Regions from separate parts of the Homo sapiens genome. Here regions 1, 2, 4, 5, 6 and 7 are each linked to region 3. Evidence: promoter capture Hi-C in 16 types of primary human blood cells and fetal thymus (Javierre and others, 2016). All regions are on one chromosome and are shown on one strand. The core of a region is centred on a gene start or on the middle of the fragment in contact, and the rest is flanking DNA. Distances in the headings are between cores, read along the strand shown.

Region 1 (3,989 bases), core at 1,246-3,745, 1.7 Mb after region 3:
CACATTATACGCAAAATAAACCCCAGTGCATTAAAGACATAAATATCAAGAGTTAAACTAGAATTTTTACAAGGCAATATAAAGGAATATGATTTAGAATATGGAAGGATTTTCTTGACTAAAACACAAGCATTAAGCTTAAAAGACCAAATCTGTATATTAGATTTCAAACTTCTATATCACAAAAGAGGCTAAACAAAAGGGGAAATTAGCCAGATTACGAGTAATGTTAACACTACATATAACTGACAAAGATTAATATCTAGATTATATAATGAGTCTCTAAAACAAATTAAAAACAGACAACCAATAGGAAAAATATGGATAAAAACAAATAGATAACAATTCATAGGCAAGGAAACAAAACGACAAACAGATGGAAAAATGTTCACTCTAAATCAGAGACATGCAACTGAAAACTACAATGCAGTGCCATTTGTTCCAATCAACTTTCATACTGATTTTCCTCTCTTCCCCTGCTCTTGTTCATATCACATGTAACTATTTCAGGCTTCCAGGTTAAGTTTGGCCAGTGGAAGGCACTGGGGGAGGAATGAACGACAGACAGAGGGAGAACACAGGCATTCTTCCCCTTTCCACTTTGTTTCCTGCAGGACCTCTGGCAGCCTCCATGAGCCCCCGGAGGCCTTGTTGTGTCCAGCTCCCACCTCGCCTCCTGCATCCCCCTTTGGTGTCAATTTCAGACAGGTGACCCTAGTTTCTGATTTCTGTTAACCATGGCCTTCTACTATTGTGAATGTTGCTTCACTATCTAGTTTGGTTTCTCAGCTAGTCTATCATCTGTCTAATCAATTGTCTGTGTTAAATTTCCTCTGTTGAAAGACTGAGAGTGTTCCAGCTGGACTCTGATGCACCATTTCATACTCATTAGATTGACACAAATTTAAATGTCTGTCAATACTACGTGCTGAAAAAGATATGGAGTAATATGAGCCCTGTATGCAGCTGGTGGGAGTGTAAACTGATAAGACCACTTTGGAAAGCAGTAAAGTTTTAGTAAAATTGTACATGGGTGATTCCTGTGACCTAGCAATTCCAATTTCATGTCTACTTACCGATACCCAACCCATACCCAACCTATACTCTCTCATTTTCACAAGATGAGAAATTCATTCAAGCATTATTTGTAAAGGCAAAAATTTATAAAACAATGTAAATATCCAGCAACATACATGTCTTTAAAATATGATATACTAAAGATATAATATACTATTAATCAGTTCAAAAATATCAACTAGAGCTTCCTGTGTCAATATGGATAACTCTCAAAAACATAATGCTGAGTAGATGCAGAATGATACATATATAGTACAGTGTCATTTATACACATTTATTTTAAAATGCCAATTCTTTATATTCTTTCCGGATATATAAGTAGTAAAAATATATATACACAGAAATGATAAACCCCAAATTCAGGATAACTTTCCTCTCTGGAAGGCAAGAGGGAAATGGAATCGGAGAGTGGTATACATGGAAATTTAACATATCTGTAATGTTTTATTTCTTAGAAATACCTCATGCACATTTGGTAGAAATCAAATTTAATAAAGCTGGGTAAAAGGCACATGGGTGTTTGCTATGTTATTCACCATTCTGTTAGTATTGTTGAAATGTTTTATTTAATTTTTTTAAAACAACTTATCTTTCTAAAAATAAGTAGCCTTTATTAATGTAGAAGGGACAATAATGGGTATCTAATCATGACCCCTAAATTTATGTGGAGTAGAAACTTTTGGAGAACTGACAAAAGGCTGTCTATAAAACCTACCTAATTTCCTCCTAAAGGAAAGTCATATTTTACCCACACTCAACCCCATTCACCTTCAAAATAATAATACTTTTTCCATGTTCATCATCATCGACCATGTCAGTCTGCTGAGACCTACTTCTGAATGGATGCTACTTCAAAACAGTCTTCACTATTTTCTAAAACATTGTCTATCACTGCTGGCCTTCCCCTGTCCACTACAGTATATCCATCTCTTTGATGTGTAGTTTGTCTGCCTTAAAGCTTCTAGCCATTAACATGTATGCTGTTTCTCCTTTGGTCTTGGGCTGTAGCCTAGCTTCTTGGCCTCTTTTCGCTTGTTTTTGCCCTCCGTCATTGGTTATGGAAGCCCTCTGTTTTTGGGCAAAGGCTAGGCTCAGTATGTTTTCACAGTTCTCATTACTTCACCCTAAACAGTGTCTAGTGTATTAATCCTGAACCAGGTGCAGTTGTATGGAACTTCTTTGCATCTTTGGTTGTCCTAGGGTCTCTCTTATCTCCGAGCTCTTGCACATGATCCCTCTTGGTATAGAATGAACACTTGTAGCCACACCCCTTACTTTTCCTGCTGATTTCTTATTCCCTTAAACCCCAGCTTAATTCCATCCTCCTGGAAACTTTCCCAGATCCTTGAGACCAGCACTCTCTACTTACCCTGCTATTACATTCAGCACATAATATCATAATCACTCTCAGCCACCAAATATAAGTTCCATTCAGCCAGGGAAAATGTCTGTATCATTTATCACACACTAACTGTCAAGCACAAAGCCTGGCATGTAGTAGACATTCAATAAATATTTTATGAATAAATGAAGGAAAATCAAGTCAGACTAATGGTCTGCCTGCCCAGTGAATTATTCTTTTTCTGATGAGGAGTGTCGTTTGCATCCACGAAGTCAAGTTACCTAAACAGCTCAAAGTTTCTCAGTATCTCATTGTAGATCCATCTCCCAGGTATTTACCTAACTTTTTTGCAGAACCTTCACTTTTTAACCATATCTGGAATAACAAATTCCACAGAATTATGTCCAATTATGCAAAGGTTTAGTTCTTTTATGAACATCCTTCTTTCAAGCCTGATGTCTTTAAGTCTAAAATGCTTACATTGAAAATTCTTTACTTTTTTTTCCTTTCAGGTAAAAGTAGAAAAGAAAGCTTTCTAATTTCCATGCACAATGAAGGAAGACATAACAGAGACGAGAGCGAAAAATGCAAGACTGAAGTCACAGCACTCACAGAAGGCAAATCAGTCAGCTCTCGTTAACACACACAAAGTCTGGCATTTGTGTATTAGTGATAATCATGGATTACTGCTGTATTCTATTAGCCTTTTAGGGATTTGCCTTTGCTAAATCTAAAACAACAACAAGCAAATGCAAGTGCAGAAAAGGGAATTCTTATTAATGGAGCCTGTTTGATAACTCTTTTCATACCAGTTTAGAAGGCCTCTTTAGTTTGTTTTTTCAGCAGCAGCTGGAAGCAATACTTTTTTCGAATTATCAAAAGATTTAATGGTGTAATGTGATCCAAGAGCAGAACTAGTTATAATGAGAGAAAAGCAACAAACAGTATAAACCAGTTATAATCTACTATAATTTTACCAATTTAATTTTTAACTTGAAGAATATTTTATTAAGTATGTATTTACACATATTAAGTATATGTATAGATATATTTCAGTTTTCTATATTTCATTTTATATATTACATATAAGTTTGTACATTTAACTATATGTGTACCATATGTTTCAGAAATAAGTGTATTTTGCATTTAGTCTTTCTTAGACCAAAAGCTGGTTTTTCCCCAGGGAACTTTTCTTGATATTTCCATAAGAGATTTGTTTCTTAATATTTTTAAGGGCACTTTAAGAAAAAGTTTTTGGTTAGCTTGAGGATGGAAAATCTTCAAGGGTTCTATGTTCTAATTTTACAACATGTTTAACATTTTATAAATAAACTAAATAGCATTTGTCCTAAACAAACATTAGGAAATTCTTTGAAAATGCTCATCAGAGCATGCTAACCAGTATGTTTTAATAGACTTATTCTCCACGTAAGCATTGTTAATCCTTTGCATCTTTTTTTCTGAAGAGCTTTAAATCGTACTCTTAAGCAGGGTTTATTACTATGAATTTCAAGTAGAAAAATTATTGTTTATGTATTAAAAATATCTTCTGAAATGCAGCTGCTCATGC
Region 2 (3,924 bases), core at 276-2,775, 1.4 Mb after region 3:
TTCAACAGTGAGTAGTAGTTTAGGGGAAACAGCTGGCACCTCTGGCAGTCGCCTCAGAGGTCAACCAGCGTGTAGATTGCTTTCCCTCAGGCTTTGGTGACAGTGACAAAAGAAGCATTCAAAATCATAGGCTGAGTGATTGTTCCCTGGAAGCAAGTCTGAGGCCCCTGCAGACGTGGTTGTCAGTGTTGGATCAAAGCACTCTTCTCCTCTGGACAGGAAACAAAGCAGAAAGAATAAACTGGATGCACCTCCTATCTCCAGAGGTAACTAAAAAGATACACCTGGGAAGGACCACTCTAATAAGGGTTTTTGATGAAATGGATCAGAGTCAAAAAGGGAAGCACTTGCCGAAATAGGAGATGCTTCTAAAAACTCTTGATTTTCCCTTTGGCTTTGCTTTTGAAAAATGGAAGCTGTCTTGTGGGGATTTGGAGAGTGATTGAAGGTGCTGATTAGCAGCTGATGAACTGAAAGGGAGTGCTAGAAGGAATGGAATTGGAGCCCATAGAAGAGCTTGTGGCTCTAAAGGGGAAAACAGCAGGAGGCAAGGTCTGTCTGGTTCTTGCTGCATCCCTAGTGCCTAGCATGGTGCCCAGCACAGGCCAGGGTAAAATCGTTTTCTTCTGACTAACTGGCAAAAAAAAAAAATGAAAAACACAAAACCTAAGCAAGCAGCCGGATGAAGTCTCCTGACCTCCCTCCCTTCTTTCCCAAGCCCACTGTCCTAACCCCGTAATATCGTACGTTTCAGTCTGTGAGGGAATAAGCAGGGAGCAGCGGGCATCTTCTAGATCCCTGGACCAGCAGCATCAGCATCACCTGGGAACTTGGAAATGCAAATTATTGTGCCTCACCCTAGACCTACTAAATCTGCAACTCTGCTGACTGGGGCTCAGTAACCTCCAATTCAGCAAGCACTCCAGGGAATTCTGAAACAGTAAAGCTTGAGAACTACCATGCTAGTCGAAATTATGGATCAATTTTTAACTTTTTTGAACTTTTTAACCAGGTGTCTTGGCATTTCGTGAATACAGCATGAGCCCTTTGCATTAACACATGGCACGAAATTGTTTTTTGGCCAGAGAAGAAGTTGGATCGATGGACTTGAGAGCTTTGAACTTCTTTTTGAGGCATTTGGGGTTAGAATGACGTAGAAGGGGATCTTTGGAACATGAAACTTTTTGAGAAAAGCTGTAAATATTTTTGTGATTCTTTTTTGAGAGGCGAGGATAGCTTATGATCCTCACATTTCCCTGCAGAGCATTTGGGCCAGTTTTACTTCCCAGTACTGCATGTGCTGAAAGAAGAAGAGAGAAGTTGAATCTTTAAAGAGGAGACCGGTTCACCAGAAAAAAAAAAGTGTTGCTTGGAAGCTGAAGGCTTCATACTAATTTGTTGCTTTCCTCTTCAATCTGCATGAGAACAGAGCAAGGTTGCTGTCTCGGGAGATTTAAGCAGGGAACCAATCTAGTTTGTCTTCTAAACTGGAACACATGTGAAAGTGAAAGGGGAGTACTATTAATAATTTCCCTAGGACAGTGGGTGTAAATTGGGCGCCACCCTAGACCAGTGGTTCTCAGTTGGGTTCTTTTCGACTCTTCTCCCCCGGGGCACATTTGGCATTGTCTGGAGGCATGTGTGCTTGTCCCAACTTGAGTGGGGCTGTGTGCCACTAGCATCAAGTAGGTAGAGGCCAGGGATGCTGCTCAACATGCTGTAATACAGAAGACAGCAGCTGCAATAAAGAATTGTCTGGCTCAAAATGTCAATAGTGCTAAGGTCAGAAACCCTTGGCTAGAGGACAGATGGGAGAGTAGGTGACCAGTGAAACAATTAGAATGGGGCTGTGCTGCAGAAGGGCTTGAATGCTGGAATGAACCATTTATGTTAATTGGCCATTCAAGGCTCATGAGCAGGGAAGTGTTTTGTTAGAAGTTGGTTTGTTTCCTGCTGTCTTTAATACCCAGCACAATGTCAGGCATATAGTAAATGATGAGTAAATACATTGTCCATCTACCCATCCATCCATCCAGAAAATATTACCTGAATAGCCACCATGTGCCTGGTAGAGTACTGAGATTTGAATGTGGAGGTAAGCTTTATGAAAGTGATTTTGGCATGGGTTTAAAGGATGGGTTGGAATGGATAATTACTGGAGATGAGGAAACAAGTGAGGGGCACTGTAACTATCCAGAGGTAAAACAGGGAGTGTTTAAGCAAGTGCCAACTCAAAGTGGGTGGAAAGGAAGGAAGGAATTGTGTCAAAAATATCTCTAACCCAGCTATGTGATTTGACCCTTGACTCAGTTCAGGCTGTGAAGGAGATGAAGGTGAGCAGGGCTGCTTCTAGATTTTGAGTCTAGGTAACTGAAAGACTAGTGTTGTCAAAACAAGATCTCTTTTCATGGGAAAATTGATATGTCAACTTTGTACCTACTGAGCCTGATGTGCTGGCTGTACAAGTTGGAGCCCCCAACAAGGAGCTAGGGATGTGGGTCTGGAGCCCAGGGAAGACAGGTTAGTGGGACCCTTGCCCAGAATTCACTTCTGCATCTAAGCTCAGGCTACACAGCTTATCATGTCATCATCACTACAGCTATAGGATAAAGGGTTATCTGCTGAGTCCAAAATCTGTTGCCTTCTTGAGAAAGATATTGAGAAACATCCATAACTCTTCAGAGTTCTTTTTTTAAAAAACTATATATCCATTCAAAATATGACTCTCACTATGCAACCTGGTGGAAAACTCTGCATTTGGCCTCGAAATTCTTCTGTTAATAACAGACATTGTTCTCAGAAAAGGCCATTCCCTCTGGAATTTCAAAGATTCAATTATGCAGTGAATTTTCTCCTTTACCAAAGCCGTTGTCTTCTACTCCTCACATAAACATGAGCACGTGGCATGTTTTAAATAAGTACTGCTGGCTTTGTCTTTGAGTCACCAAGAAGAAAAGCCAGTCCCCACATCAGCCTCATCGCCCTCCTCATGAACTCAGTATGTTGTGAATTCTGCTTTAGGGTTGTTTCTTCCTGTAATTGCCTGAGCCCAGGGCAGCACCTTTTATCTGCTAATCATGAGGTGATGTTTTAGTACTGTGACTCCCAAAATGAAGCCCAAGATCCTAACCTCCTTCTCTATTGCTGTTTTCCTTTCCCCTGCTGAGGACTCCAGTGACTTGAGGAGACCCCCATGAAGGAATGCCTGCATAAAATGGTTAGGGAAAGTACATCAACGGTGGCTTCAGTGACTACTCCCACTCAGCCCCATTTCTGTAATTGATTAGTATAATCTGGAGAGTTTAATCTGAGATACATCTAATCTTTGGAAACTTTGTATCACCTTGGTTTTGCCTGTAATTCCCATGCATTTATCACCGCTGTTTAGATGTGTATTATCTCTGTAACACGTATCACAAATTGACTCTTCTTGTCTTCAGTGCGCAAGAGAAACAGACTTTGCCTCCAAAATGTCAGCTAGTTTCTGTTCTGGGAGGTTACCTCTTTTAAATGTGGATACTTGTGAGAAACAACTCTATGTGGAGTGCTAAAGGATGTGGAAAAGGAAATTAGGCTACCTGGATTGGAATCTATCCAAGGGTATCCAGTGTATCTGGTCTTACCCGGCAGACATTGCTAATCTCTCAAAGACTCTTTACCCACTGAACCCAGACACAGCCTCCAAGTAGCTTCCTGGCTGGCTGTCATTATCAGTTCTTTGGAGTGGGCAAATAAAATGAAACTTTGGTGTTATTCCTGCTAGCCTGTAAAACTTATTATGTGAGCTTAGCCTTGTCACCCAAATACTCTAAGCCCCATTATCCTCATCTGAAAAATGGGGTGGAGGTGGTGGTCTTTGTATGTGTGCGTGTGTGGGGGGGTGGGTAAGGATACTATGTTACAGGATTGTAGTAGGGCTACATT
Region 3 (4,045 bases), core at 1,370-3,869:
GTGATAGAAGGTGGTAGGCTGCTTGGGCTTTTTGTATTTATCTACTTAGTTTCTGACTTATTCTTATTCTGTTAGTTTCAGTGACATGAGCTTGTGGTAAACCAAAGCCACCTGTAGCAGATATTATTGGTGCCCCGCCAGTATGCTATATTCCCTTACTATTTCAGCGTATACCAATGTGACTCTTAATTCTTCTATCTCTGGCTTTCTGTGGCCACTGAGGCAACTCTGTCTACTCTTGGAGCATTGCAGACAAGCCAGGGTCTTAATAATCCCTGAAAGCTGCCCCCAATCATTGACTGACGGTAGTTGGTGTTTAAACAACCCAGTTATCTTGTCCTCTTGGTGGAATCACTCAGTCTAAGGTACATGTTCCATATTGTTTCCCAGAGATTTCTAGGAGGATTAAGTTCTGGGTGCCTCTAGCGGTAATGTGCTAGATAAGGCATCTTTTTGGTCTTCTCTTCCCTATTTCACTTTCTTAGTCTCTTACTGGTGTTTCCTGCGATAACCTCCTAAATAAAATACTTGCTCTTGAATACCTGTCTCCAGATCTGCTTCTGGGAGAACCCATACTAAGGTGGTTATTAATTCAGTCAAGTTGCAGATCAGACAGTAACCTCCCACTGATTGTCTTGGCACTTGAAGGTCCTGAATCCAATGCAAGTTCTATGTCTTCATGCTCTTTGTGAATGTATCTGTTGCTCAAGGTCGTGGGTGACCTTGAGCCCAGCAGTCAGCATTATCCACAGCTGAAGTAATACCTATGTGCTCATATTAGGCTATCTGACAACAGTGCAATAATCATTAGACACCACTGTTTAGACCCTGAGTATGTTCATGACATTTGCCTTTTGACTGCTAAGTAGAAGATGTAATGATTATAGGCTGATGCTTTCTCAGGAGGAGGAAAGTTATTGAGCTTTACAGTTTCAAATGCTTCTGATTTTCTTCCACGTTTAGTCTGGCTGCTGACACATGTGTTGAAATCTCTCATGTCGATCAGCTTGAGAATAGCTGGGACTGCTGAGCTAAGTCTGTGCTCATAAAAGCAACAAAGAATTGTATTACAGGAAATGACCCCAAATTGACAGAAGATTAGGCTAGGAAGCCTGAACAGGTGTTTTAATCTCTATGCACAAAATCAGTCTGTACATATATTGCTCACATTCCTGCTGTTTTAACTATATTTTTTTTTTCAATTTCACTTTGTTATTCACAATTTGATAATATTTTATGTGGCCATGGTGTCTGTGTGATGAACTATAATCCAATGTGACATTCTCTGAGAGTCAAGCTTCCAAGGACATCAGATTTTCACACCAGGACACTTTGTAGGACACCTTGCTACTCTCCATGGGATTCAAATATTAGAAATAATGAGAGATCTAAGACTTGATGTAATTGCCTGCATGTAATGAATCAGGCCAAATAAAAAAGTGAGAGACAGAGAAAGGAAATGGTGCTAAGGAAAATGGGGACCTATCTTAGTGTTTGTCTGAGAGAAAACTGCTCTTTGTTTTTCCCGATGTAATGGCAAGAGTCTGCAGCCAGGAATCTAGTCCTTGCTTAGGAGCTGCATGACCTTGTGAAAATTACGTAGGTGTTCTGCAATTTGTAATTGCATTTATTGTAAAATTAATTTTACTTTTCATACGTCACTAGACAGAGCATTTTGAGGTTAGGAATTGGGTCTGAATCAATGATTTCTCCAGCACCCACATGGCATTTGGCACAGAATACATCAATAATGATTTTGGATTAAACAGGGGAACAAGCACAAGGAACCATGGTGGTCAGAAACGGGTTGATCTGCACCAGAGAAAGGGAGACTAGGGGAGAAAGGTCACTCTAGATTTCGTTCAATTATTGAAAATACGGTGTATTTACTATGTGCTGGGCACTTTTCTAGGTGCTAGAAAGACTACAGTGACCAAAACAAAAATCCACATCTGCAGGGATCTTGCATTCTAGTGAGAAAGTAAGATGGTAAAAAAGATAAATACGTAAATTTTATACAATGCTTCGTAACGACAAATGCTAAGGAGAAAAACAGCACAGAAAAGACAGAAAGGAAAAGAGAAGGGGCGCATGTGGTGCAATTTTGTTAGGATGCCAGGGAGGGCTGAGCGTAGTCGTAAATGACCACATTATTTGATGGATCAAGCCAGGGACTGCAAGTCTGTGTTTCTGAGAGACACATAAAGAAAAGAAGGCTTAAGGAATCCAGAAAGATCCAGAGTGGGGAAATGAAACGAAAAGAAATCCAGCCAGTGGGAAGTCGTGAAGGGATAGTTAAACGCGTTTTGGGAGGAAAGAAAAAAGCAAAAGTGCGGTACAGCCTTTCGTTACACGTGAAAAGAATCATGTTTCTTTTTCTAGTTAGAAAAAGCCAAAGATTGTGCGATTTATGCCCCAAACCCCCTTGTAAGGGGATTCTCACCTCAACTTGTCTTCTGTGGTCAGTGTTTCCCGCCCCTGAATCAGGGTTACTGTCACTATGGCTTTCAATTGGCCCGGCGTAGGCGCATGCTCTGCGCGTATTGGCCTCCGCTCCTGTCCCCAGACAAGCGGCCATCTTGGGTCCCGCCCCTACCGTGGGGTCTTCTGGGAATTGCAGTCCCCGCTCTGCTCTGTCCGGTCACAGGACTTTTTGCCCTCTGTTCCCGGGTCCCTCAGGCGGCCACCCAGTGGGCACACTCCCAGGCGGCGCTCCGGCCCCGCGCTCCCTCCCTCTGCCTTTCATTCCCAGCTGTCAACATCCTGGAAGGTAGGGGCGGGGAGGCAAGCCCAAGTGGAATACTGTTTCTGGGGCGCGGGTCTGGGTTTCCACGCGCGTCAGGTCATCACCCCGGAGCCCAGTGGGGCCGGCGCCGCTCACGGGGCGGTGGGCTTCTGTCCCGAGTACTCTTCCGCCCCACGAGGGTCTCAGGGTGGGGACTCGGGCCCCCCAATTCCCAAGCACCGACCCTAGCCCTAACCCGTTCCTCCTCCACCGTGTTTATACATTGGGGAAACTGAGGCACGGGGCCACGCCAGCGGGTCCGGGGACGCCACAGCTCTTGGCTCTGGGGGTGTAGTCGGCACCCGCCGTTTTGGGATGGTTCGTCAGTTTCATAGACAAGTAGCGAAAATCCGTCCCAACAGGTCTGTGTTAAACACGCAGCTCTGGATTCCCCTAAGGGGTTGCTGAACACGTGCCCAGGACAGGAGCAAACCGGAGTATAGAGAAGGCAGCATTTTGGGAGATAATTTTACATTACTACTTCAAAAACAGGCAAAGAGGCATCGAATTTATTGTTGTGGGAGAACTCATCGGTACTTGGTCGGACTTTCTTACACTTATTTTATGGTTGTTGTTTTTATTTTTAGCGTCAAAGGGGGGAATTTTAAAGGTATATCCAAGTTGGTGGTGGTGGGGGGTAAGGAGGCAGGTTAGTGGAACTTGAGATGCATCTGCAGATTTCTCTGTAGGCTCACATTCTGCCCTCGCTGTGTTACCTTGGAACAGCCACTCACAGCGCTTATCTGGGAAACAAGGAGCTCAATGCTCCCAGGTCAAGTGGCCAAAGGATGTTGCCTGAAGCCGAAATCTAAATTGAGGTTATGCTTGTGAAAGTTTACCACTTGCAGATTTACTGCTATTATTATTCTGGTCTCTCAGAAATGTGCTGGGACCAATAGAAAATACTCACAGTGGTTGTTTTAGTAAGGTTCTGACCTGGGCCGGGCCCAGACTACCAAGGGTGGTCCCTACTCGCACCTGATGTTAAGCCGGATCTACCTGAACTCTCCCTCCTTGGCTTCAGCCTGCGGCCTGAGGCCTTGGCCGCGGAGGCTTCTGGGAGTTGCAGTCCCGCCTCTTGTTTCTCGTCGGGCAGGTACTCCACCTCGTGGCGTGCCATTTTGCACGGCGAGATGTCTCCTGGGAGACGAAGTCTCGCTTCTAGCCGTTCTGTAGAGCAGCCGCTTGACTCGGAACTACAACTCCCATGTGGACCTGCGTTCATGGCTGCCGGCCTGTGTCCACCTGCTGCAACCTGGA
Region 4 (4,065 bases), core at 118-2,617, 1.7 Mb after region 3:
GGGATTTTAAATGACAGCCATAAGGACATGCCTTGTGGTGAAAGATGGTGGTTGGATAAGGAAGGGCTGCTCAGCTGTCTACTAAGGGACGCGGTCTCTGGTTCATTCCTCAAGAGTTTCCATAGGCTGCACAGGACAACAGCTTTCTCATTTAGGCTGGAGTTGAGGATGCTTAAAGTTTTGTTTTTTTCCACAACTACCTGCACTTTGAGGGCAACAAAGTGAGAATGACTCATGAGAGATGGTCCTGTTTGGACCAGAGGCAAAGCAACAACCAGCCCATCTGGGGAAAATTTGTCTCTAGGAGAACAGTGTTTGTGTATTGATAATATAAAATTAGATGACAGCATCCCCTTCTTCTCTTCCCTACCACCAAGGAGGAACTGAACCTTCAGAAATCCACTTGTTTTTTGTTTGTTTGTTTGTTTGAGACGGAGTCTCACTCTGTTGCCCAGGCTGGAGTGCCTTGGAGCAATCTTGACTCACTGCAACCTGTGCCTCCTGGGTTCAAGCGATTCTTTGGCCTCAGCCTCCCAAGTAACTGGGACTACAGATGCATGCCACCATGCCCAGCTAATTTTTGTATTTTTAGTAGAGATGGGGTTTCACCATATTGGGCAGGCTGGTCTCAAACTCCTGACCTCATGATCTACCCACCTTGGCCTCCCAAAGTGCTGGGATTACAGGCGTGAGCCACCATGCCCAGCCAATTTTTGTATTTTTAGTAGAGATGGGGTTTCACCATATTGGCCAGGCTGGTCTCGAACTTCTGACCTCATGATCCACCCTCCTTGGCCTCCCAAAGTGCTGGGATTACAGGTGTGAACCATCACACCCAGCCTCCAGGAATACACTGTTTAAATTTCTCTTTCACAAGTGATGCCCTGGTTAAATCCCTTCATCACATTTTGCATCTCTTCTTCAGATGAGTTTCCCAAGAGAAGAGCTCAGTCTCCCTCCCTGGTTACTCAACTAATGTCTAAAATGTCACTGGTCCTCACTATTTATTAAATGACTGAATTGCCAGATTATCAAAATCCATACATACTACCAGAGAAGTCTCTCTGGCTGTTACGAAAAGATTGGTTTCTCCTAAATCAACAGTCACTGAGAACCAACCATTCATTGAATAACTCATTCACTTCACAACTGTATATCTAGCAAGGATCTTAGTAAGTGCCAGACCCCTTGCAAGATTTTCCAGACACAGCAGCAAATAAAACAGACAAGATTCTGGCTCCCAGGGAGTTGATAGTAGGTAAGACCAGGGATCATCACACATTTCTATAAAGAGCCAGAGCATAAATATTTAAGGCTTTGCAGGCCACTTGCAGTCTCTGAAGCATATTTTCTTTGTATTTTTTGTATGCTTGTTTTTAACAACACTAAAAAATATAAAAAACCATTCTCATATCAAGGGTCTTTCAAAAATAGACCACAGGCCAAATTTGGCCCATTAGCCCTAGTTCGTCAACACTTGTTTAAGACAGACATTAAACAAATGCCCTGAGGATGACATCAGTACAGGTGAGATAAGCACGTAGGAGAGTGAGAGAGGAAAAAAAGGCTGCGTACATACGGCCAAGATTTTGGAGGGGTCAGGGAAGGCCACCAGGAAGGAGAAGCATTCAAAATATGATGTGATGGAGGAGCAGGGCTAACTCAGCAAAGAATGAGGAGCGTGAGGGAGGAGGGCGAGGGGGCTGAATGAAGGGAGAGGGGCTACAGGTAAAGGCTTTGAGCAGCACAGCTGAGCGGGATCCAGATAAAAAAGCCTTGTCAACTGTATCAGGAGCTTGGATTTTACCTTAGGTACAACGGAAGCCTTGTAAGGGTGGGTTTTAAGGAGAAGAGTGCCTGGATCTCCATGAAATTGAAGGAACTCTTCTGGCTGCTGGGCAGGTTCTACTCTGAGAAAGTAAGAGGCTAGTCCACTGTAGCCTTGTGCTATGGGTTCGATTGTGTCCCCTCCTCCCCCGCCAAAATGTGTTGAAGCCCTAACCCCCTACTCCTTGGAATGTGACCTTATTTGGAAATAGGGTCCATTACAGATATAATTTGTTAAGATGAGGTCATACTGGAGTAGGGTCCAACAAATGCCTGGTGTCCTTATAAAAAGGCAGGCATGTGAAGACAGGCACACAGGGACAACCCCAGATGGCATAAAGGCAGAGTGTGGCGTGCTGCAGCTGCAAGCCAAGTAAGGCCAAGTAAGGCCAGAGACCTCCAGAAGCCAGGAAGAGGCAAGGAAGGACACCCTTGCAGGTTTCAGAGGGAGCCTGGCCCTACTGACCATTTGATTTTCAGATTTCTAGCCTCCAGAATGGTGAGATAATATAATCCTGTTGCTTTAAGTCACCCAATTTGTGGTGCTTCCTTCCAGCAGCCCTAGGAAATAAATACACCTAATGGGTGACAATGACTAGGAAAGAAGGAAAGAAATGCACTGCTTTGAAAAACATTTTAAAGATAGAATTAAAGAGCTTTGAGATGGGTTGGATGTAGGGAAGTGGGGAAAAGGAAATGTATAGGCTGGCAATCCACACCCAGCTACTGCCCTTGGTTACCTGTGGAAGGGCAGCAGTGATTAGAGGGAAGGAAGAAACAGCGAGCATTTCCTTATAAAATACACCACTCCATCCTTTGTCTTCTTAAAGGAGGGAGTCGGACTTTCATAATAAAAATGATAGAGTAGAACAGTAAATAAGAAAAGGAAGGAAAAACTGCATGACTGCTAGGGCTGGCTTGAAAATCCCTGTGGATAGAGGAAGCCTGACTGCGCTTGTGAAACTAAAGCAGCAGCGAAGGTTGGGGTAAGGATAGACCCAGATTTCAGCTTGGGGCATAAGGCTGAGATGCGGGAAGGTTATTACATGATGGGAAGCTTGCCTTGCTTTGAGGGGTCTTCTGATTTTTAACCAAAAGAAAGCAGAAAGGGATATGGCAAACAGACATAGAGATATCTGCAGGAGGCAGAAACGTGTGGCTTTAGAGAACAGCTTCCTAAATCAGCCCATCATGGACACACGTTCTGCATTGGTCTTCCCACGTCTGTCTGGTGCAGGACGGGGTAGCCCTTCAAAGCAGCATGTTAGCTTTAGGCACCTCCTTCAGAGGAAGCACTCCATGGAAGAAATAAAAAAGGCTGAATGTTATTTTAATTGAATTTGTTTTCAATTTATTCTCAGCTGTCTAGGGAAAAACCTTTAACACTCACATCATTTGATTCCTTTTTACTTTGTGTCCATTATCCTCATAATGAGCTTTTAACGCATTAATGCAGCCCTGTTTGCCAAAGAGTAATTCAGTTGCTCAAATCAATAAGTAGCAAAAGCATAAAAATGTACCAAATTGAGACAATGAACCAGAGTATAAATGGAAACCTTCATCTTCCACTTCCTTAAAAGTGGGGGCTGCATTCTGGTGACCTTCTGATGCTACAGTATCAAGGTGAATATGCAGAAATTCCTCTACTTCATAAATTCCAATTCTCAAATGTCCATCGAACCATCAGAGCTAAATGTTGGAGCCAACAGGAAGCTCCCCTGCCTGTCAGTGGCATTTAGCCTCAGCCTTCCCATCTGCAGTTTTTTCCCAGCAGTGTGCTGTAGTTGAAGCAATATCTTGTTATAAAAGTATTTGCAATGAAAAGGGGAAAATCGTAATGCAAACTTCTATGGAATTTTTTTAAGGTTCAAAGGAGGTAAAGAAGAGTGGGAGCTTTTGCCATCTTCCTCTATGGTTCATGCCTCTAAACATCCATATAGATGACATCTATTGCTCATCGTGTAGTGCCACCTTAGGCGTAAAGAAAGTAAAACAGCTCTTCATATTGTAATATAGGAACTCCTTTTGAGGGCTTAGCATGCTGCTTAATCCCAGCAAGAAGGAAGATTTGCTCTGGTACCCTTCCCACAATGGTAGCAGAGAGAGGATGATGCCTTGGGATTCAACTAATCCAGAGCTTCTCCCATGCCTACCTCTGCCAGGATCTTAGCCTACACCAACTGAGAAGCTCATAATCATCGAGTAGAGAGCTTATATATACCTTTCTCCTATGAGTTC
Region 5 (4,104 bases), core at 925-3,424, 1.7 Mb after region 3:
CCACAAGTTTGGGGTTTGAGAAAGTTACGACATGTTCTCCTCTCTGGGGACCTATTCTAATCCCAGGCCTTCTCTCCTGTCTCCCATTATACGACCTTATAGGTTGGGACTCTTTTGGACTAGAACAAAGACTCTTATTTGTAAAAGGAATTAAAGCTACAGGCTACCTGGTTCTTCTAAACGAAACTCAGAAAATGTCACATTTGTATGTCAAATAATTTAAGGCAGTCGAAACAAAGATGTTTGTTGTATGTAGCCAGGGTGCTCAAAACATACCAGGGTGATGAGCTGAGATGAGGATCTTATGACCGTATCTCTTGTTCTAAAAACCTGCATGAAGGTTTAAGACACCTCAGAGAGGGCCATCAGGCATTGGTCAAAAGCCAGGGCAGGCACCTGAATTGTAGAATTTAGAAAGGCTGCCAAGGTAGTAGCAGCAACCAGAGGGACATGAAATCTGGCCTTGAGTCTAGACTTCATGAGCGCCACTCTGCCTGACGTTGTCATTTATCCTTTACAAATACTTTCTTACAAAATGTCTTATTTTATCCTGCACCATAATTTCACATACCAACTCAAACTGATTGTTGGTGGCTACCCGGAGCACCATGTTTAAAAAAGATTGTGGAACTCAGTGGAAATAGATTCTTTAATCTTAGTGATACCCAAGCAGGAACTTCATGACCTTAAGTGCCTAGGAAAACAGGGGCACATATATGAAGTATCCGCTCCCCACACACCACAATTATTTCTTAGCTAGCCAGTGATAGTAAGGTTTCAGTCATGAAGGGAATCTTAACTCCTAAGATATCTCTTGTCCAATGGCCCTAACCCTAAACCATTTTGAATGAGGGAATTATCCTTTAAAGAAATCCCACAAGCTTTATTTTCCTCCAAATCCATTGTTACCAAAGAAAGTTGTTCCTTTCAGTGAGCCTATCTCCTTCAAAACCCTTTTCTTCTTGATGGAAATAACTTGAAGGGCTGCAGCTTTGTCTCTGAGTCTCTAAATGAAGAACATGTTCAACTCTATATTGAAAACTGGGGGGAAAGACTCATGCAGGCATCAAGGGGTTACACCTTTCTGCGTAGAAAAATCCTTTCCCAAAGCGGGTTAGAAACAGGCACAATGAATTCAGCCCATCTACTTTTTAATGGCTTGCATTATTAAAAACATTACTTATGCCTTTTGCATGACAAAGAACATGAGTAATAATTTTGATAATAACTTTGTCTTTGATACACAAAGGAACTCGGTGTGAAAGTTTTTAAAATACTATCTTTGGGGCAAAACTGGAGATTAGCAACATGCTGGGAAATGAGCTATTCCATTGAAGGAGAAGACTGCAGTGCTTTTTTTCTTCTTTTAAATTTTAAAATTGGAAACCCAGCAGAAAGCTGCTAGAATGCTTAAACAGTCATGTCCATTAGAATATTTGGTCTCTGCAACAACATGTGGAACTGCTGATCAGAAAAAGAGTGTGTATGTATATATATATTTACGTATCATTTCTTCAAACCTGCCCCTACTGTAGTAGGTTTTCTATCTACCAAAAACATCATGAAGACATTCTTTGTTTACACAGCAGTGGTTTGTGGTTCAATGCAATTAGTGGACAATGAACATTAAACTTTTATGACCAGCTTTAAGCATACCTTCTCTTGAAATTTTTTTAACCAAGTGACAACTGACATTCATTCATTCATTCAATACATATTTATTGAGTATCTACTATGCACCTGATATTGAATCTAAGGGTACAGTGAATAAAACAGATGGAGATTCCCACCCTGGTGTATTTACATTCCAGTGTGGGGAGGAAGATGCTGAAAAAATAAACATAAAGAAGAATATGTTGTATGTTAGAAGATAAGTGCCACAGGAAGAGGTATATCAGACTAGAGTGTATAATTTAAAACAGGGTTGTCAGGGTAGACCTCCTTAGAAAGGGAACACTTCATTCAAGATATGAAGGAAGTGACAAAACTCACCACACTGTCCATCATCACCAGTGCCAAGACCCTAATCAAGATAGGCAAAGTTGTGTATGGAGATTTAGCAGGGTCGGGAGATTAGGAGTTTTACTTTGGATCTTTTGGGCTCAAGATCTCAGACGAGAGATGACAAGTGACTTGGATATACTAGTCTGGAGCTCAGGAAGGAGATTTGGGCTGGAATATAAATCTGTATACTCTTGCCATATAGATAGCATCTACCACTGTGAAGCCATGTGAGATTGCCGAGGAAATGAGTAAATCTGCGTATGTTCATTGCAGCACTATTCTCAGTAGTAAAGACATGGAATCAACCTAAATGCCCATCAATGATAGACTAAATAAAGAAAAATATGGTACATATATGTCATGGAGTACTATGCAGCCATCAAAAAGAATGGGATCATGTCCTTTGCAGGAACATGGATGGAGCTGGAGACCATTATCCTTAGCAAACTAATGTGGGAACAGAAAACCAAATACTGCGTGTTCTCATTTGTAAGTGGGAACAAAGTAATGACAACACATGAATACACAGAGGGGAATAACACATACTGTGGCCTTTTGGAGGGTGGAGGGTGGGAGGAGGGAGAGGATCAGGAAAAATAATGGGTACTAATGGCACTAGGCTTAATACATTGGTAAAAAAAATAATCTGTACAACAAACTTCCATGACACAAGTTTACCTGTATAACGAACCTACACATGTATCCCTGAACTTAAAATAAAAGTTAAATTAAAAAAAAAAAAGAAAGAAAGAAAACCAGGATCAAGGGCTGTGCCCTAGAGCTTTCTAACCCTTCCCATACTGGGGAAAAGAGGAAGAACAGCAAAGGAGATGGAGAAGGTAGGAAGAAAAGCAAAAGAACAGGCTTGGAAACTAATTGAAAAATATGTATTGGGGAGGAAGACGTCATCAGCTGAGTCAATGCTGCTGACTCGCAGTCAAGAAAGATGAAGGCAAAGCATCACGAATCTATGGAGGGCATGAGTCACCAACATCTTTATCCAGGCACAGCATTTGCCTCAGAGACTCACACATCCTTTCATTTTATTATGTCTTACTAATCTGAAAATAGTCCACAGCCCCATCCCAGGCAAGGTCACAACCTGGTAGCTCACGAGATGGGGCTGGTCTCAACATCTGTTTGTTGTTGTTGTTGTTTTTGCTGGGTCATCACAGTATTTTAAAAATGTGAAGTAACACATTAAAGTTGTGAAATTCCCTGCTTAAAAATTACAGGTTTCCATGTCCTCTAAGAAACTTAAAGCTCTCACTGATCTGACCCATATTCCCACTGCACAGCAGCCACTGGCTGCAGCTGAGGGCTGTAGGTTTCCAGCTCACCATGACCCCCAGCAATTTGTACATGGGTGCAAATGAACTCCCATCCCACCAGCCACCCCTATTTACCTGCCCTGTCTGGCTAGAGAAACAACCCACTTTGCAATCTCTCTTCTAAGAAGCTTTAAAAATAGAATCAGATCTCAAAGGTTCTGAAGGCACTATATGAATCTGCATTTGGATCAAAGTACAATTTTTGAGGAGTTTTGTTTACGAATCTCAGTCTGAAAACCTTATATCTTATTGTGACAGATTTCCTGTGGACCAGCAGGAAACACCGATTTTAGGAGCTGTTTAAAAGTATTAAATGGCAAAAAGGTTTCGTGTTTAAATGAGCATGAGAAATAGCAAGTTCAGTTTTCACTATTTCTTTCTTTTTCCTTTGCTATGGAACATCTCAGAGGTTGTAAATGCTAATTTGTCCTAGGACTCTTAAAGACTCATGCCCTGGCCGGGCGCAGTGGCTCATGCCTGTAATCCCAGCACTTTGGGAGGCTGAGGCAGGCAGATAATGAGGTCAGGAGTTGGAGACCATGCTGGCCAACATGGTAAAACCCCATCTCTACTAAAATACAGAAAAAAATTTAGCTGGGCATGGTGGCAGGTGCCTGTATTCCCAGCTACTTGGGAGGTTGAGGAAGCGAATCGCTTGAATCCGGGAGGTGGAGATCACAGTGAGCTGCGATCGTGCCACTGCACTCCAGCCTGGCAACAGAGCAAGACTCCGTCTCAAAAAATAAAAAGAAAAAAGAAAGAAAGAAAA
Region 6 (3,579 bases), core at 1,033-3,532, 1.7 Mb after region 3:
GCTCCCTGTTTACCATGCTTGAAATATCTGGGCTGTGCTAAGCTGAGAACACAGTTACACTGGGTCAGCATCTCAGAAGTTATTTTCTTCAAGAAGCTTAGCTCCATGGTATAAGGGATCAGTTATAGAATACTAATAACAGTTTAATGATTTCTCACTTTGCCTTCAGGGGCATCATCAAAATCTTGTTCTGATTCTATCAGAAACCAAGATTTTAAGTATGTTGCTAAACAAAATTTCCATAAAATGAGAGATGCAAAATAAGACTGAAAGTGATAAAATGTTTAGAAGCAGTGCTTGACAATTCTCAAAGCATAGAATAAGAGTTCAAAAATATGACATCTCTACAGAGCCAAAAATTAATGTCCAATATAAATTCTCTCTGATACGCTGATGATTAGATGCCAATACCATTTGGCTAATGCTAAATCCCACACCATCCTTTTTAGCTTTATGTCTGAACTGTAACAAAAGATTTATTAACACAACCTTTTTAAGTTCCCAAATGATAGCATTAAGGTTACAACATAGGCTTCTTAATACACATTTTCAAGTTAATTTTTTATACAATGTAGTTAAAAATTATGAGCTATGAAGTCCACCGGCCTGGGTTAGCCCATTGACTCAGCTATGTATTAATTATCTTGTGAAATTTTCTTAACCTGTCAGTGCTTCTATTTTCTCAACTGTAAAATGGGGATTATATTTACTATTTCACAGAATTGCTATATTGCTATAAAGATTAGAGCTAATACATTGAAGGTTCTTATTACAGTACCAGATACATGGTAGGCTTTCCATGCATAATAGCTATTGCTATCATGGCCATGAGTTGAATCCTCAAATCTTCCCTACATTTTCTTATCATACAACCAATTGTTTAAGAAATTTCAGGAGTTTTAAGGCAATTCTTAAATTCTTCTATTATTCTTCCAATATAAATGCAAGGTGAAGAAGGTATTCTAGTTGAGATATTTTTCCCTCCAACCATGTTTTCCCCTTACTATGTATTTGTTGAAGAACCTGTGCCATACATGTAGAGTTTCCTGCAGTCTGGATTTTACTGGTTGCACACACAGACAATTCAACATGAGCCTCTCTCTTTGGTATTTCTTGCAAACTAACAACTGGATCAAGAGGCTTAATTACATTCAAGTTTGATGCTTTTGGCAAGACTAATGGTGGTACTGGGTTGTTTCACCTGGAGACGCATCATGTCTTGTTTTTCGCTTTTTTTTGAATGTAGAAGTCATCAATGCTCAACGTCTAAATATATCATGAATTCATAATGATATTTTTAATTCAAATTTGGGAGCTTAAGAAATTTACTTTAATTTTCCTACATTACACTTGTATACATACATGAGTCTTGGAATAACAACACTAAAGCCATCAATAATGATTCCTGACTATAGAACATTTTTTACATATGCTCTCCCATCTTTCTCCTCATTTTATTGTGGTACTATGTCTGCATTCTCAAATCATACAAGCATTACTTACCAGAATCTTTCTCTTCTTAGTCATAGACACACAAGTACTGCCACAATACATTTAGTGCCTACTGCCAGTTCTAACATTGAGGTCTCTAGTCATTTTGGTAATCTGAAGACAATTCTCTACTAGATTCCTTGACAAAAAAAAAAAAGAGAGAGAGAATGGGAAAGGTAACCCCTGAAATCTTACATTTCTATTTATTTTTTTCCTTTTTCTTAATTTTTTAAATTGTGGTAAAATACACACATAACATTTACCACTGCTACCTTTTTTTGTTTTTGATTTCTAGAGACAGAATCTCGCTCTATTGCCCAGGCTGGAGTGCAGTGGTTCAGGCTTGTCTCAAATTCCTGAGCTCAAGCTATCCACCTGAACTCGGCCTCCCAGTAGCACTGGCATTATAGGTATGAGCCATCACGTCTGGCCTGTTACATGGGAGGCTGAGGCAGCTACTTGGGAAGTTGAGGCAGGAGAATTGCTTGAACCCAGGGGGACAGAAGTTGCAGTGAGCCAAGATGGCACCACTTCACTCCAGCCTGAGCTAAAGAGCAAGACGCTGTCTCAAAAAAAAAAAAAAAAGTATATATATATATATGTGTGTGTGTGTGTGTGTACACACATATATACACACAAATATATATATATATATATTTTTTTTTTCTTTTTCTCCAGTAGTAGAATTGCTGGAACATACGGTAGCTCTTTGTTTGGTTTTTTGAGGAACCTCCACTCTGTTCTCTACAATGGCTGTACTTAACTGTTTTACACTCCCACCAAAGGTATATGAGGGTTCCCCTTTCTCCACATCCTCACCAGCATCTGTTATTGTCTGTCTTCTTGACACAAGTCATTTTAACTGGGGTGAGATGAGATCTCATTGTGGTTTTGATTTGCATTTCTTTGACAACTAGCGATGAACATTTTTTCACATGCTTGTTGGCCATTTATATGTATTCTTTTGATAAATGTCTGTTCATATCTTTTTCTCATTTTTAAGTTAGACTGTTCCTTTTGCTACTGAGTTGTTTGAACTCCTCTGGTCATTAATCCCTGTTGGATGCATAGTTTGCAAATACTAGCTCCCATTCTGCAGGTTGTCTCTTTTCTTCGTTGATTGTTTCCTTTGCTGTGCAGAAGTGTTTCAGCTTGAGGTAATCCCACTTATTTTTTCTTTGGTTGCCGTGCTTTTGAGGTCTTACACAAAAAACCTTTGCCCAGACCAGTGTCCTGGAATATATCTCCAATGTTTACTTCTAGTACTTTCATAGTTTCAGGCCTTAGATTTAAGTCTTTTAATCTATTGATTAGATTTTCATTTACAATATATAGTTTCCTTCTGTATAATAGTTATCCAGTTTTTCTACCCCTATTTATTGAAAAGACTGCCCTTTCTCCATTATATGTTTCTGGTGCCTTTGTCAAAGATGAGTTGGCTGTGAATGTGTGGATTTATATATAGGTTCTCTATTCTGTTGCACTGGTCTATGTGTCTCTTTTTACATCAGTGCCATGCTGTTTTGGTTACTATAGCTTTATAGTAAATTTGATGTCAGGTAGTATGATGCCTACAGCTTTGCTCTTTTTGCTCAGGATTGCCTTGGCTCTTCAGAGTCTTTTGTGGTTCCATATAAATTTTAGGATTTTTTTCCCTATGTCTGTGAAGAATGTCATTAATATTTCAATAGGGATTGCAGTGAATATGTAAATTGCTTTTGGTAGTATCCTTATTTTAATAATATTACTTTTTTCAATCCATGAGCATGAAATATCATTCCACTTTTTTGTGTCCTCTTGAATTTCTTTCACCAGAGCTTTGTACTTTTCCTTTTGTAGGTCTTTCACTTCCTTGAGTAGCTTGATTCCTAGTTATTTTATATATTTTTGTAGCTATTGTAAATGAGATTTCTTTTTATTTTCAGACTGTTTGATATTGTTATATATAAATGTTACTGATTTTTGTAAGTTGATTTTGTATCCTGCAACTTTATTGAATTTGTTTTTCAGTACTAACAGGTTTTTTTGGTGGAGTCTTTAGTTTTTTCTAGGTATAAGACCATGTCATCTGCAAACAAGGCTAATGTG
Region 7 (3,523 bases), core at 373-2,872, 1.5 Mb after region 3:
TCTCTTTTACAATGTGTATCTGTTCCTGCCTCACTAGTATATCATATGGTTTACATAACATAATTAAACTCTTATTTGAGGACTGAGGATGGGTACAACTATGTCATCCTTCTGAATATCTACTGTGATAAGTTTATCTGGGCAAGAAGTATTTAGTGAGCCTCTCCTATGTGCCTAGCTTTGGTTTTATAAGGTCATGGTTAAGGTATTAGATTGAACCATATGACATTGATGTCTGGGAAGTCAAAGAAAAGATTGGCTATTGTGAAAAGACATGATTTTGCCCCCAGGAAACCTATAGAGTGGAAGATAAATTAGAAGGCATGTACAATAAGTGTCCTGAAATGGAACCATCTTGGAGGGCCACCTAAGTCCAGTGCTGGTGGATCAGGGGAAGAAATGCCATCCATGCAGGGAGAACAGTATGTGCAAAGGGCTGGTAGTGAGATACAAGGCAGTTGTTTAAAGAATAACTCCTACTCACATGAGATGGAAACAGGACAAAGGGTTGAGAGATGCAGGTAAAATGGTAAAGGCCTGCTACTGTGCCAAGAAAACCATGTCCAGGACCAGTAAGTCAGGACCAGAGCATTTGATGTCAAAGGATTAGGAGATGGAGTCGAAATTGCACTGGACCATTACCTAGAATTTCTGCTTTTTAAATAAGAGAACCCACGATATAAGCTCTGTCAGTTGTGATGTTCCAATTCAGAGACTAGATGCAGGCCACCCCTGTTATATTTAGTTGAGGGACCTTTTTAGTAGAGCAACACTGAGGCTTTTAGTCCAACATGGCAGAAGACTCAAGCAATTCACTGAATCTCCCTGGGCCTTTGTTCCCTTCTCTATAAAATGGGGATAATAATATTGTGCCTCTACCTACCCTAGAGTTCATCAAATAACATTCTGTATGCAAAAGAGCTTTAAGTTAAGTTAGAGCCTCAATTTAGTCTGTATTGCTTAGCAAATGCTATGTATTGTTATATGAGGAGGGGGAATAGACAGAAAGGGAGTGGGACCCTGGAGTCCCAACTGCCTACTAGCTATGAGATCACATCTCTAAGCCTTAACTTCTTCATCTAAAAATGGAAATGACAGCACCATGGATGGGGTAGGTACTCTTATGAAGAGTAAATGAGATCATGTTTGTACTTGGCACTGAGCACATTGCCAGGCAGACAGCAAGCACTCAATAGAGCTCCATTAAAAATAACAATAACAACAACATAATTATTCCATCCTTAATGTTGGGCTCCAGTCCTTTGATGTTTCCACTTTCCGGGAGCAAAAATTTCCCCAACATTGGACCGAGGGCATCTCTCCTTCAGCCAGGAACACCACTCCATTTTTCTTTTTGAGACCAAGTCTCACTCTGTTGCCCAGGCTAGAGTGCAATGATACAATCTCGGCTCACTGCAACATTCACCTCCCGGGTTCAAGCAATTCTCCTGCCTCAGCCTCCCGAATAACTGGGATTACAGGTGTCCACCACCCCACCTGGCTAATTTTTGCATTTTTAGTAGAGATAGGGTGTCACCATGTTGGCCAGGCTGGTCTCGAACTCCTGACCTCAGGTGATCCACCTGCCTCAGCCTCCGAAAGTGCTGGGATTACAGGCGTGAGCCACCGCGCCCGGCCCAGCTCTCCATTTTTCATAGAGTAGTATTTGTTCCTTGTGGTTTATCTGCATTTTGGCTGAAGGATCGAGTCCAGAATCTGACCCCCTCCTGTTGTAAGTAGATGAGTTTTCTCTCCACCCAAGGCCCAAATAGCCATTTGCAATGTGAAAGAACAGTTAATCGGGGTTGTTTTGCATCTGGGATGCCAGAAAATCACTTTTTTCTTGATTTAAAAGAAATTTAATTTTGGCATCTGGTAGACACAGTCTGATAACCAATTAGGAACTCTCACAGATTTTGAAGCAATAAATTGGCTACTAGGCTTTACTCTAATGTCAATGAACTGGGGTGAGTTATTGCCAAAATCAATCAAAAAGAGAGAAAGGAGCAAAATTGCTTGGAAATTAGTTTACTTCTTTCAACGTCTTGTCTGTGTTTCCTACCCAAATAGCAATCAGTGTGCTGTTTCATTCCCCAATGATAGGCAGAAGAAATGGAGACAGAGCTGCAAAGCCTTCCAAACAGCCTTCTTGGTGTGGGAATCAACATAAACAAAAGGACTAAAGAGATTATGAAATGTGGAAAGCATGCGAAATGTATATTACTACTGCGGACATGTTTATTAAAATCTGGGCAAGCATTTTGCTGTGAAAATAAAACATAAGAGCACATTTATGGAGAGGAGAACATTTGGATGACTATCTCACAGACATAAAGCTCTTAAGGCAGAGAAGTTTTAATTAAGAACAGCAACCTGTGTGAAGTGCTATACCCAAAATAGATCCTAGTCGGGATTCAGTGAAGGGATACATCAGTTTCAGACATCTGGAATCCAGTTAATAACTCCAGTACTTTTATATGGCAAATGCTACTATGTTGCAACTTTGGTGGACATTTTGGAATGGGAGCTGGATTCCTATCTTGAGGAAAACTGCGGTCATCCGATGTTGTAATCTTACATGCCTCTCAAGGATGATCATTTCTCTTTGTTTTCCATCATAGCCTCCTTTTCTTTAGTTGTGTAAGTAGTTATGTTTAATGATGTTAATGAGTATCTGCAAACCCATTGCCCAGAACAAAACCTATGATTTTGCTACTATCCCACATCTAACAGTATGATAGTCCCACACAAAAAACCATCCCCTTGTCTCCTCACATGGAGTCAGTCCAGCATCCTCAATCTATGCTCACCATTGCTTTGTGACTTTTCATATAGTTTTAGGCATCTCTATGGATTCCTAAAGTGTGTATATTTTTATTGTCTTTAGGGAATTTTTTTAAACTAATATATTGTTAAGATTTCTCCCTATGAGCTGTGTGTCACTATCAAACATTTGTTTTGCTTGAGCCATGGTATTTAATTATGTGAACATATCAGGGTTTATTCATCTACTCCCTGGTGGGATGTTGGTCATTACTAGATTCTATCTATTTTAATCAGAGTTTCTTTGAACATTCTCATGCATGTCTTCTTGTACACATATGAGAATTTCTCTTGGTAATATACCTGGCAGTCATATTGTTGTAGATGTCAACTTTAGGAGGTAATGCTAAACTGTTTTCAAAAGAGGTTATTCCAGTATATCTTCTCAACCGCAATGCCAGAGCAATCCTGGGAGTCCATATCCTCTTTAGCCCACAGAATGGTTTCTCAGCACAGCTTGTCAATGAAGGATCAGACTGTCTGAGTAATAAGTCCAAGTTCTAACTCTTGATCAAGTTAATGTAAAAATATCACTTTCAAACATTGGTAATTTTGATCTCCACCTAAATCTAGCAGTACTGCAGTAAGATCCTCTTTCCTAGAGCATTGAAGCCTTGAAAGCAATATGGCCAAAGGGATACAAATGTCACATGGATGTTTGGGCTAGAAAGTTTTAAAGATCTGTGTCAATCCCTGATTC

The links. The method cuts DNA at HindIII sites, captures the fragments that hold promoters and counts their contacts. A CHiCAGO score of 5 or more calls a contact.
Region 1: a contact is called between a fragment that was not itself captured here and the fragment with the promoter of FHIT in region 3, in 3 of 17 cell types (total CD4 T cells, naive CD4 T cells and non-activated CD4 T cells). The highest score is 6.9, in total CD4 T cells.
Region 2: a fragment that was not itself captured here is called in contact with the fragment with the promoter of FHIT in region 3 in 2 of 17 cell types (naive CD8 T cells and total B cells); the score reaches 5.2 in naive CD8 T cells.
Region 4: a contact is called between a fragment that was not itself captured here and the fragment with the promoter of FHIT in region 3, in 8 of 17 cell types (total CD4 T cells, naive CD4 T cells, activated CD4 T cells and 5 more). The highest score is 13.9, in total CD4 T cells.
Region 5: a fragment that was not itself captured here is called in contact with the fragment with the promoter of FHIT in region 3 in 2 of 17 cell types (naive CD8 T cells and naive CD4 T cells); the score reaches 6.2 in naive CD8 T cells.
Region 6: a contact is called between a fragment that was not itself captured here and the fragment with the promoter of FHIT in region 3, in 6 of 17 cell types (naive CD8 T cells, total CD4 T cells, naive CD4 T cells and 3 more). The highest score is 8.7, in naive CD8 T cells.
Region 7: a contact is called between a fragment that was not itself captured here and the fragment with the promoter of FHIT in region 3, in 4 of 17 cell types (total CD4 T cells, non-activated CD4 T cells, naive CD4 T cells and 1 more). The highest score is 6.1, in total CD4 T cells.

Annotation. Positions count from the first base shown.
Region 1 is chr3:59,548,575-59,552,563 of GRCh38, reverse strand. The region is part of intron 6 of CFAP20DC-DT (CFAP20DC divergent transcript); the gene reads right to left. Among named protein-coding and RNA genes, the nearest start is that of CFAP20DC-DT, 460 kb to the right of the region's middle. The HindIII fragment of the contact is 915 bases long and covers 2,038-2,952 here.
Region 2 is chr3:59,871,406-59,875,329 of GRCh38, reverse strand. The region is part of intron 8 of FHIT (fragile histidine triad diadenosine triphosphatase); the gene reads left to right. All of the region lies in intron 2 of LOC105377113 (a long non-coding RNA gene), which reads right to left. Among named protein-coding and RNA genes, the nearest start is that of MIR548BB, 740 kb to the left of the region's middle. The HindIII fragment of the contact is 1,154 bases long and covers 949-2,102 here.
Region 3 is chr3:61,250,026-61,254,070 of GRCh38, reverse strand. FHIT (fragile histidine triad diadenosine triphosphatase) reads left to right here and starts at 2,619. Exons shown (of 10, transcript NM_002012.4): 1 at 2,619-2,770. It overlaps LOC124909387 (a long non-coding RNA gene), which reads right to left and starts at 2,479. Exons shown (of 2, transcript XR_007095939.1): 1 at 2,444-2,479. RefSeq lists enhancers at 2,522-2,816, 2,881-2,940, 3,071-3,200, 3,341-3,470, 3,751-4,030. The HindIII fragment of the contact is 4,935 bases long and covers 1,300-4,045 here.
Region 4 is chr3:59,568,142-59,572,206 of GRCh38, reverse strand. All of the region lies in intron 6 of CFAP20DC-DT (CFAP20DC divergent transcript), which reads right to left. Among named protein-coding and RNA genes, the nearest start is that of CFAP20DC-DT, 480 kb to the right of the region's middle. The HindIII fragment of the contact is 3,038 bases long and covers 1-2,886 here.
Region 5 is chr3:59,501,919-59,506,022 of GRCh38, reverse strand. The region is part of intron 5 of CFAP20DC-DT (CFAP20DC divergent transcript); the gene reads right to left. Among named protein-coding and RNA genes, the nearest start is that of CFAP20DC-DT, 420 kb to the right of the region's middle. The HindIII fragment of the contact is 2,582 bases long and covers 884-3,465 here.
Region 6 is chr3:59,587,305-59,590,883 of GRCh38, reverse strand. All of the region lies in intron 6 of CFAP20DC-DT (CFAP20DC divergent transcript), which reads right to left. Among named protein-coding and RNA genes, the nearest start is that of CFAP20DC-DT, 500 kb to the right of the region's middle. The HindIII fragment of the contact is 4,368 bases long and covers 99-3,579 here.
Region 7 is chr3:59,765,332-59,768,854 of GRCh38, reverse strand. The region is part of intron 8 of FHIT (fragile histidine triad diadenosine triphosphatase); the gene reads left to right. All of the region lies in intron 6 of CFAP20DC-DT (CFAP20DC divergent transcript), which reads right to left. Among named protein-coding and RNA genes, the nearest start is that of CFAP20DC-DT, 680 kb to the right of the region's middle. The HindIII fragment of the contact is 7,479 bases long and covers 1-3,523 here.